Linked DNA regions of Homo sapiens: region 1 is linked to region 2. The links are contacts of gene promoters, found by promoter capture Hi-C in blood cells and fetal thymus (Javierre and others, 2016). All regions are on one chromosome and are shown on one strand. The core of a region is centred on a gene start or on the middle of the fragment in contact, and the rest is flanking DNA. Distances in the headings are between cores, read along the strand shown.

The links. The method cuts DNA at HindIII sites, captures the fragments that hold promoters and counts their contacts. A CHiCAGO score of 5 or more calls a contact.
Region 1: a contact is called between the fragment with the promoter of CCNDBP1 here and the fragment with the promoter of CDAN1 in region 2, in 1 of 17 cell types (fetal thymus). The highest score is 6.4, in fetal thymus.

What each region holds. Positions count from the first base shown.
Region 1 is chr15:43,182,408-43,187,042 of GRCh38, forward strand. CCNDBP1 (cyclin D1 binding protein 1) reads left to right here and starts at 2,996. Exons shown (of 11, transcript NM_012142.5): 1 at 2,996-3,200; 2 at 3,413-3,472; 3 at 3,747-3,826. The coding sequence starts at 3,092. It overlaps TMEM62 (transmembrane protein 62), which reads left to right. Exons shown (of 14, transcript NM_024956.4): 14 at 1,853-2,737. The coding sequence ends at 2,179. LOC124903478 (a long non-coding RNA gene) reads right to left here and starts at 3,480. Exons shown (of 2, transcript XR_007064604.1): 1 at 3,362-3,480. RefSeq lists silencers at 2,722-3,021, 3,242-3,331 and an enhancer at 3,502-3,601. The HindIII fragment of the contact is 8,824 bases long and covers 1-4,635 here.
Region 2 is chr15:42,735,549-42,740,666 of GRCh38, forward strand. It overlaps CDAN1 (codanin 1), which reads right to left and starts at 1,580. Exons shown (of 28, transcript NM_138477.4): 1 at 1,465-1,580; 2 at 754-1,232; 3 at 327-530; 4 at 1-131. The coding sequence starts at 1,554. It overlaps TTBK2 (tau tubulin kinase 2), which reads right to left. Exons shown (of 15, transcript NM_173500.4): 15 at 3,182-5,118. It overlaps TTBK2-AS1 (TTBK2 antisense RNA 1), which reads left to right and starts at 3,570. Exons shown (of 3, transcript NR_186317.1): 1 at 3,570-3,687. RefSeq lists silencers at 807-1,096, 1,187-1,326, 1,517-1,766. The HindIII fragment of the contact is 7,008 bases long and covers 1-3,512 here.

The sequences.
Region 1 (4,635 bases), core at 1,746-4,245, 450 kb after region 2:
ATGAGTAGGTCCTGGGTTCATTTCAGTTTTCTTTTCTTTTCTTTTCTTTTTTTTTTTTTTTTTGAGATGGAGTCTCGATCTTGTCGTCCAGGCTGGAGTGCAATGGCATCGTCTCGGCTCACTGCAACCTCTGCCTCCCTAATTCAAGTGATTCTCCTGCCTCAGCCTCCCATGTAGCTGGGGTTACAGGTGCCTGCCACCATGCCCGGCTAATTTTTGTATTTTTAGTAGAGACAGGGTTTCACTGTGTTGGCCAGGATGGTCTCGAACTCCTGACCTCAGGTGATCCGCCCGTCTCGGCCTCCCAAAGTGCTGGGATTACAGGCGTGAGCCACTGCACCCAGCCTCATTGCAGTTTTCTATTATGTTGATGGAGGCTGTCTCTAAGGAGCTCTCTCATACCAAATGAATCCTGAGCCTTACCAAAAGGCAGGGTTTTTTCCTTTGTAAATGTTTACATTCATATTCTAATAAATAGTACACTAATAATGGATTTTATGTATCATCCAGACCCATGAATCCCAAATCTATATCTCTGATCTAGACCTCTTCTCTGCACTTCAAGTGCCTCTATATCCAATGGCCACAGATGTCTAACAGGCATCTCAACTTCATGTGATGTCTCTCTGATAGGAACATTATTTCCACCCCAAACCTGTTCCTCTCTGTTTTTCCAGTTTTAATAAATGACTCCACCATTCACCTGATTTCTCCAAGATGTATCCTCAATTATTCCCTTTCCTTCATACCCTGTATCTATTTCACCAGCAAGCTCTACCTTATTTGATCTGCTTCCAATGCATATCTTGAATCCATCCACTTCTCTCCATTTCTGTTTTCCTAATCTAAGTTGTAATTATTTCTTGCCTGGGTCTTCTCCCTGATATTCTTGCCTCCTTACTCTCAGCTTAATACAGAGCATCCAGTGTGCTCTTTTAAAAACTTTACAATCAGCTCACTTACTTTTCAGCTTGAAATGCTTTGAAGCAGAGCAGTGATCTGGGTCCTGCCGACTGCCCCAATTTCCACCTGGCTCATGCTCTGCATGCACTTCCTTAAAGAGGCCAAGACCTCTCCCACCTCTGGGCTTTTCATTTGTTCCTTCTGCCTAGAATGCACTTCCCTCCGCTGATTCATTCTTGTCCTTCTGGCCTCTGAGAGCCTTTCTCCCAGTTACCTTCTCATGACCCAGTTCTTTCCTTCATTGAACTAATCACGATCTGTAATTATATTTTTTGGTTTTTTTTTTTGTCTGTCTTCTCCCTGTTAGAATGTAAGCTCTATGACGGACCTTTTCTAACTTGTTTGCCATTGTGTCCCCAACTTGGAGCCTAGCTCATGCCTGCTACATAATGGGTGCTCAATAAATATTTGTTAAATGAATGAATCATACAGCAGCTCAACTTGGATTATAATTTAGATACTCTAATTTATATTCCAGTACTTATCATGCTACCTCAAACAAAAATGGAGGTAAGAAAAAAAATACTGATAGCCAAGTCCTCCCCTCACTCCACCAAAAAAGAGGGGTTGTTGTATGTGTGTGTATACATTTACTCAGTTCAATTCCAGCTTAACACCATTGGGTATTAACTGTGTATATGATACTGTACTACAAGTTGGGACTTCAGCATAAATTAAATGATACCTGCCTCTAAGATGAATAAAAGGACATGGGCAAATACACAACTAGCCACAAGTCAGCTGTTGTGTTATAAGCAACTGTGCTTGAAGTAAATTAGCTAACGCCAAGACAGATAGCAGCATAGTCTTAGGATCCACTAATAATGCATTATTAAGACCAAACTCTTCCAAGGACTTGGGAGTAAGCTATGGTTCTGTTCTTTTCCAGCTGGCGTTTTTTAACATCCCCTTGATGGCTTACATGTGTTGGAGCTTGCTGCAGCGGTGCTTTGGTCACAACTTCAGGTCTCATCTCCATCAAAGAAAATACTTGAAAATTATGCCTGTTCACCTACTTATGCTACTGCTGTACATCTGGCAGGTTTATTCCTGCTACTTTCTTTATGCAACATACGGCACCCTAGCTTTTTTATTCTCCCCTTTGCGGACCTGGTTGACACTGCTGACACCTGTTCTCATTCGTTATGTGTGGACACTGAACTCCACCAAGTTTGGAATCTTCATGGTGCAGTTAAAAAGCCACCTGAGCTCCTGAAGGCCATGTCTCACCACTGGCAGCTGGGCAGAAGCCCAGCCTCTGTGTCTGTAGCCCAGGCCTCTACCCCAGTAGCAGGTGGAGGGCCAGGATTGGTGGGTGAGCTTTAGGGAGCAGCTGCTCGTTTGGAGTCCTGGACGTTGGAGGGATTACCCACTACTGATACCTGCAGAATGGACTGCAGAAAAGTCTCAAAAATAATGCCTTTATTCCTTCCCTCCCTAAGGAGGCAAAGAGTTGATTTACCTTTGTGAAGAGAAAACCCTTATCTAGGACATCCACAGGGTAGAGGTTGGGTGTGTGTACGGGAGTGTCTGAGGCCCAGTGTGTTTTTTAGGGTTACCCCATGTAAAGCACTTACCGCTGTGCTTGGAATTCAGCAGCTGTCAAAGGTGCAATTTCAGGGGCAGGGAACCTTTGAGGATCTGGGCCCGACCCTCACTACCCCTGAGATATTAGTTCCCAGGCCTGTTTTCCCACAGGATTGTGGGCTCTCTGCTTCCTTAGTCGGAAGTGTTTTCAACTAATCAAATAAATGAATGAATGATGAATAAGAAAGACGGTGAGCCTGAGGCTTGCTTGTGTAGCCTGGCCTAAGGGGCAAGAGAAGGCGTGGCCTGTCCTGGCCTCTGAGAGTGGGATGGTTGGTGCTGTACCTCAGGGGACAGGGCGGGGCGGGAGGAGGCGGGGCCAGGCCTGGTCTCTGATAACGGGATGGGTGGTGCTGGACCTCGGGCGGGGCCGGGCCTCGTGGCGGGAGGAGGCAGGGCAGGGCCTCTGGGACGGGGCTGGACGGCTTGTTGACGGAAACGAGCCCTTGACGCTGTGGCCCGGAAGTGGAGCGGCTGTCGCAGTGCGGCTCCGGCAGTGGCAGCGGAGGCCTGTGTTTGCGGCCTTCGGCAAGCGACTGAGATGGCGAGCGCAACTGCACCTGCAGCCGCAGTCCCCACCCTGGCTTCGCCTTTGGAGCAGCTCCGGCACTTGGCGGAGGAGCTGCGGTTGCTCCTGCCTCGAGTGCGGGGTGAGCTGACGGAGTTAGAACGGGCGACGGCAGGGGCGGGCTCGGGGTCGGGGAGAGGCCGGGCTCGGGGTCGGGGAGAGGCCGGGCTCGGGGTCGCGGAGAGGGCGGGCTGGGGCGGCGGCGGGGAGCCGGGCTTGGGCGAGGGAGGTGGCTCCGCTTACCTCAGCTTTTCCATTCGCCACCGTTCGGCCCCCACACGCCACACCCACAAGTCGGCGAAGCCCAGGAGACCACCGAGGAGTTTAATCGAGAGATGTTCTGGAGAAGACTCAGTGAGTGCGCCTCCTTCCGGGCTCCCCTTGCCTCAGTTCCTCCAGCGTCCCGACCCCTTTTCCTCCCGCTGTCCCCCACGGAGGGGACTGCTCTCCCCCGCTGCATCCTTTCTGTGAGGTACCTTACCCACCTCAGCACCTGAGAGGGTGAAATAGAATTCTAACCTCGACATTCGGGAAGTGTTTTTGAGAAGTCTCGGTCGGTAAGGGAAGTCTTCCAAGTCCGTGCAGCACTAACGTATTGGCACCTGCCTCCTCTTCGGCCACCCCCCAGATGAGGCAGCTGTGACTGTGTCAAGGGAAGCCACGACTCTGACCATAGTCTTCTCTCAGCTTCCACTGCCGTCTCCACAGGTGGGCTTCACTTTCGTGGAATCCTTGGGCTGCCGAGTTACACCTTAGGAATCCTCTAATTTTCTTTCCACCTTTTGCACGCACGCCAGGAGATTTCTTTTCTTCATCTGTCCAGTGAGGTTACCGTTTTTACTTCACAGGATTGTTGTGAAGACCGAATTGCCAAGTGCAGTTCCTGGCGCGGAGTAGGCAGGTCTTATAAATATTGGTTCAGTCTGAAGTTTATCCTGGTTGTTTCCCTTCTGATAATTTTTTAAGCACTTTTTATTTGCTGGGTGTTTTCACATACTTGATGGCCATCTGACAGATGAGCAAGGAGGCTCAGAAGCTCAGCTTAAGATTTAAAAAAAAGCAGGGGGGCTAGAATTTAAATCAAGGTCTATCTGATGTCTAAGCTACCTATTCTGTTATACTGCATAATACCCTTTTTATATTATTTTTTATATTTAATCAGTAACATATGTAGATAGTACAAAATTCAACAGATATCAAAGTGTGTTAAGTTTACCTTTCCACCCACTTTCTCATTTTTGTCTCCCCCAGTTCCTTTTGCATTATTCCACGTATATTCTGTGCATATATACATTCATATACATTTATCTGTATGTGTCAGCTTCTTTTTACACAAATGATACATAAACACTGTTCTGGACCTTCCAACTTAGAATTACTGCAAACAGTGTCGTGATGAATTACCTAATTCTGTGTATGTGTGTATATTGGTAGAAAAAATTCCCGGAAGTAGAATTGCTAGAACAAAGATTTATGCATTTTAAATATTCCTTTATTATAAAACTAATGAAAGTAAA
Region 2 (5,118 bases), core at 330-2,829:
GGCGCTGGCGGGAAGACACTCTGGCAGGGTCTGCAGGTTCATCTGTGAGGCTTCCTGTCCGGCTGGGGAGGGGCGACCCCAATTCTGGGGTGGGACAGGTGGGGGTAGGTGACTGCTGCAGCTGCTTAGAGCTATGGAATAAAGAAATTTCATGAGCAGTCAGCTTGGCTTCCCTGCTACGGCCACACTCAGGTCACTCCAGAGAAGATACCAACAGCCCAGGAGACAAACCCAGAGTCCCCAAGAGGGAAATCAATTTCAGGGAAAACCCCTGAAGATCCCCCACAGCGAGGAAACCGATATCCCCAGGAGCGGCCAGGCCATACCGCTCCTTCCTGAGCATCTCTCGCTCCTCTTGCAGACTTCTGCACCCTGGGGGAAGGCCAAGGCCCCAAGGGCTAGTGTCCAGGGCTGAGGGTTGGGAACTGGGGACACAGCTGATTGGGGGTGAGGTGAAGCAGGTCTTGGGCTTGGAGAGTGACCGCTCTTCGCTCACCGGAGTTGGGTTGATCCTGCGAGAAGGCTTCGTCCTGCTGAGAGTAGCCACAGGTTTTTCTCAAATTCCTATCTTCAAACATCTCCCCTCCACCACCGCAACAGCTAGACCTCTTGCCAAAAAACCCCACAAAAACCCTCACCATCACCCCCAGCCTTCTACCCATCCTGGCGCTCCACTGCGGAGCGCCGAGCTCGAATGACTGACTCCCCAGAGCCTTCGTGGTACCCATCTCCTGCATGAGAGCTGAGTCTCACCCTGTAGGGCCGGGGGGAACCGAGCCTACGGGAGGGAACTCCTCCAGGTTGCTGAGGTTTGGCGGATCAGACAGCGTGAGGCTGGGGCGGCTGGGGCTGCCAGAGCCCCTAAGCCTCCGGCCCCCGGCTCCGGGCAGGCTCTCCCCGCTGACCCCCTCCTCCAGGCCGCGGCCTCCACGCTCGCGGGCCGGCCCCGGGCCCCGCCTCCTGCCCCCGCGGCGGGCCAGAGGGGCCTCGGCAGCGGTGCTCTGGGCCTCGGTCGGAGGGAAAAGCTGGCTGCGCGCCCCGCGGCTACCCCGCGGCGGGCCTCCCGGCCTCCCTGGCAAGGCTGCCGAGGCGCCCGGGGTCTTGGCGGGGGTCGGGGGCCCCTGCGGGAGGACGCGGCTGCTCTGCTCCCTCAGGAAGTTCAACAGGAACGGTACGAATTCTTTCCGCAGGGCCCGGAGTGAGCTCAGCGCGGCCGCCTCCCCAGCGTTATCCTAGGGCAGAAGCACAGGTGGAGGGGCGAGAGGGTCAGCCGCCGGCCCGCGGGCCGTGAGCAGCCGGGGCCGTAGGGCGCGCCTCGGGTGGGCGGCCCGGGCAGCGGCGCCCAGTTGGAGTGCACTCGGCCCGGCTGGCAGCCAGGCGCCCTAGAGGAAGGGGACTGGAGGGCTGGACTCCACTGCGGGAACCGGCTTCGAGTCAGACCTGGGGGCGTGTCACCGCTGTTACCTCCGAACCCTGGGTGCTGCGCGCGATCCACCGCACGACGGCTGCGACCGACACCTCTTCTCGCAGCAGCGACTCCAAAACGGCCGCCATCCCGGTCGGGGCGCTCTGGGGCGACTGCGCAGGCGCCGGCGCGCCGCGGGCGGCCAGGGAGGGGCGGGGCCGGCGGCGGGGAACGACCGTTGGGTCGCGGGATGGGGAGGGACCCGGCTGGCGGGGCGGGGCGGAGCCGGCTGTTGCCCAGACCCACGGAGTCAAGGCCTCGCTGAGTCCTCAACCCCGGCCGAGAGGCCGGTTGTTAGGAGGTGAAATGTGGATCACAGCGCCTGGGGAGGCCCACCTTGGCTGCCCGCCCTGGAGCGACCTGAAGGGAGGGATTCGAGCTGGGAGTGGGGCTGCCGCGGGTCGGACGCCCCTCTAGGGAGACCCAGGACCCGGGAGAGAGGTAGAGGGGAGCAGAGACAGCCACCAGCTTCTATCTTCTGCTCTAAGCACATTCTTTCACGAGTTTAAGTTTCCTAGATCCAACTGGCACCACCCCAGAGAAATTATAATCTAATCTTTCATTTTGACTTTGTTCTTCTCAAAGGCCGATTTTTCAATCCCTTGGCCGAGCAGTACCCATCGGCTTTTCAGCGCTCACCATCAACTGACCATTTAGGAAAGAATTATTTCTAGGAGGTTCTTAATAATCCCCAAGCCACAACCCTTAAAGTGCCTCGGGCCACCCTGCACACAGAATTGCTTGTATGTAGCTTTATTTACTTAAGTGGGTTTACATGAGGTTAATATTTCAACTACTTTGCAGTTTAGATGTCAGTAAGCATATCATGATTAGCTTCTGGGAGCTTGAGGTTTGTATTTTTGGGTTTGGTGTTTTTTGTTTTTGTTTTGTTTTTTTTGAGACAGGGTCTTGCTCTGTTGCCCAGGCTGGAGTGCAGTGGCGTGAGCACGGCTCACTGCAGCCTTGGCCTCCTGGGCTCAAGCAATCCTCCCGACTCAGCCTCCCTAGGGCTATAGCCCAGCTAATGTTTTGGCCGGGAGAGGGCAGCAGATCCAAAGTGCTGGGATTATAGGCGTGGGCCACCACGCCCGGCCTGAGTAATTTCTTAATCTCCTTTATTTAATTTTATTTTGAGATGGAGTCTCGCTCTGTCACCCCCGGGGCTGGAATGCAGTGGGAGGCAGAGGTGGGCGGATCACGAGGTCGAGAGATGGAGACCATCCTGGCCAACATGGTGAAACCGTGTCTCTAATAAAAATACAAAAATTAACTGGGCGTGGTGGCACGCGCCTGTAGTCCTAGCTACTGGGGAGGCTGAGGCAGGAGAATCGCTTGAACCTGGGAGGCGGAGGTTGCAGTGATCCAAGATCACGCCACTGCACTCCAGCCTGGGTGACAGAGCGAGACTCCATCTCAAAAACAAAACAAAACAAAAAAACCTGAGAGAGGATTTTGAAGGTTGCTGCTCAGTGACAAATCAAGCAAGGGAATCCAAGCGGAGAAAAACAGATGGCACGAACATTCCATGTCAAACCAAACCAGGAGGGGTGAGGCAGTGCCCTTGTGAATGCCTCCTGAGAGTTGCTCTGGTTCAAAGGAAGGTTACGGGCGGAAGGATGAGGGTGGGGGTGCAGGAATCTCTCTAGTGGCAGAAGGGGTATTTCCTATGGAGAAGGAAAAAGTACCTCCAGCCAGACAGAATAATGGACTAAAAAGGAGCTTTTAATATTTTAATTTTATTACAGGAAAACATCTCCTAACTGCAGGGACACTTAACACCTAGCTTCTATTCAGTCCTGGGCTGCTTTTTCTAGGGAACTTCTAGATGTGGTACTGCATTTACAGTAACACTATCTGCTCCCCGTTGATCTTGTAACATCTGGTGTATTCAATAACTTTATTAAATTAGAAAAATATTTTCCACTTTTGAAATCCAGACCATCACACAAACAGAACTAGATTTTGCATGCGGAATGAATATTTTATTACTAGGTTATAAAAATAAAATACAAAATAATTTTAAAACAGAACTTAAAACACTGTACAAAGCTTTAATATGATACAAATGGGAAAATTAAATAAATAATTACACTTTTATGTACAGGTGGCCTATACAAAAGCACTCCATGTTTCTGCCGATACTCTGTCCTTGGTTGCCTGAGCAAAATTGTATAAAGGGAGCTGCTTGGAGGGGAAAGGAACACAATAAAACGCCTCTGGAGGTATTTCAAAGAGTAGTTTCTCATCTCTCTGATTTCAGGAAGAGGAGAAGAGAGGGAGAGAAAAGTGGAATTATTAAAGTCATCTAACTCATTGGTCTTGTTCAACAAGAAAGAATTCTGGTTTGTGGCTGAATCTGATTTAACAGCTGCCAATAGCTCATTACTTCTAAGATGTATATCTAATTCAAAACTAGATGCTCCCCCCTCCCTCTTTTTTCCCTAAAAGCTGGGAACTTGTAAGTAAATGGCCTAGTGAAATAGACACTGGCTATTTTAGAAAAAGGGTCAGAAGGTAGACCAGGAACTATGTATCAAGGAGAAGTAAGTGAGGCTCAAGCCCAGGCCACCTAGGCTGTGTTTATTCAGTCCACCCAATCCAATGTCAAAGCCCCAAGTGGGCCAGTGTTACCTTTATCTTCCCATCTTTGTATTTCTGAAAGCTTTGTCACCTCAGTGGACTACTTTGGCTGATGAACAGTTCAAATAGAAGATTGTTTTGGAAAAAGTCCCAAGGGCTTTCCCCTTCCTGGGTAGCTCCCTATAAGTCAAATTCAAGTTCTGGTAGCCTTGTTTACCCCTTGTAGGCGAGTGAAGAATGCCCACACAGAGTTCAGATGTGGTGAAATGCTGGGCATTGATTCCTCAGGATTTAAACTGCATATTATTAGAGAAAAAGAGCATCATATGGCAAGGGTAGTCTATATAAAAACTTGGTTTACTCAATGTTTTTAATTAGGCGAGTGAACACTTATGTACATAATATTAAATAATATTAAACTAATAAAAAGAGAGGTAAAATTCCTATCCATTGTTATTGTAAAATTATATCATCAGCAAATTCTATAGTCACATGGGCTCAAAGATCTGCCTCATCCAATCTTGTTCCCTAGGTCAAGGAACCCAGAGCCAGGGTACCTGGGAGGCATGGTCAGCATCGCCAGTGTACATATATTCTGTGCCCATACTACCACTAACGCTTCCAGCTGAAGAGGAGGCAGAAAACCGTTACATTGCACAGGGCCATGAAAGGAAAGGCTTCACTACTTTTACATGTTACCTTAAGACCAAAGATCCAGCAAAGTCTAAGGAAATATCCTAATCATTACTGTGTAATGTTACTTTTTTGCTATTCAGTGTCTTGAGATTGTGTGGAAATTCAAGGTGACCTGATCTTGTCACATACTTTAATTTTCTGATCCAAATTTGCTGAAAGGGAATAATTAAACATCAAGCTTAAATATTTTTTTAAGTAGGAGCAGACAATCACAACTGAATTAGAAGACGTCTTAATGGGCATAGACTTTATTTTTGTTTTACTTTTTTTTTTTTTTTTTTTTGAGACGGAGTCTCACTCTGTCGCCCAGGCTGGAGTGCAGTGGGGCGATCTTGGCTTACTGTAATCTTCTGCCTCCCAGGTTCAAGCGATTCTCC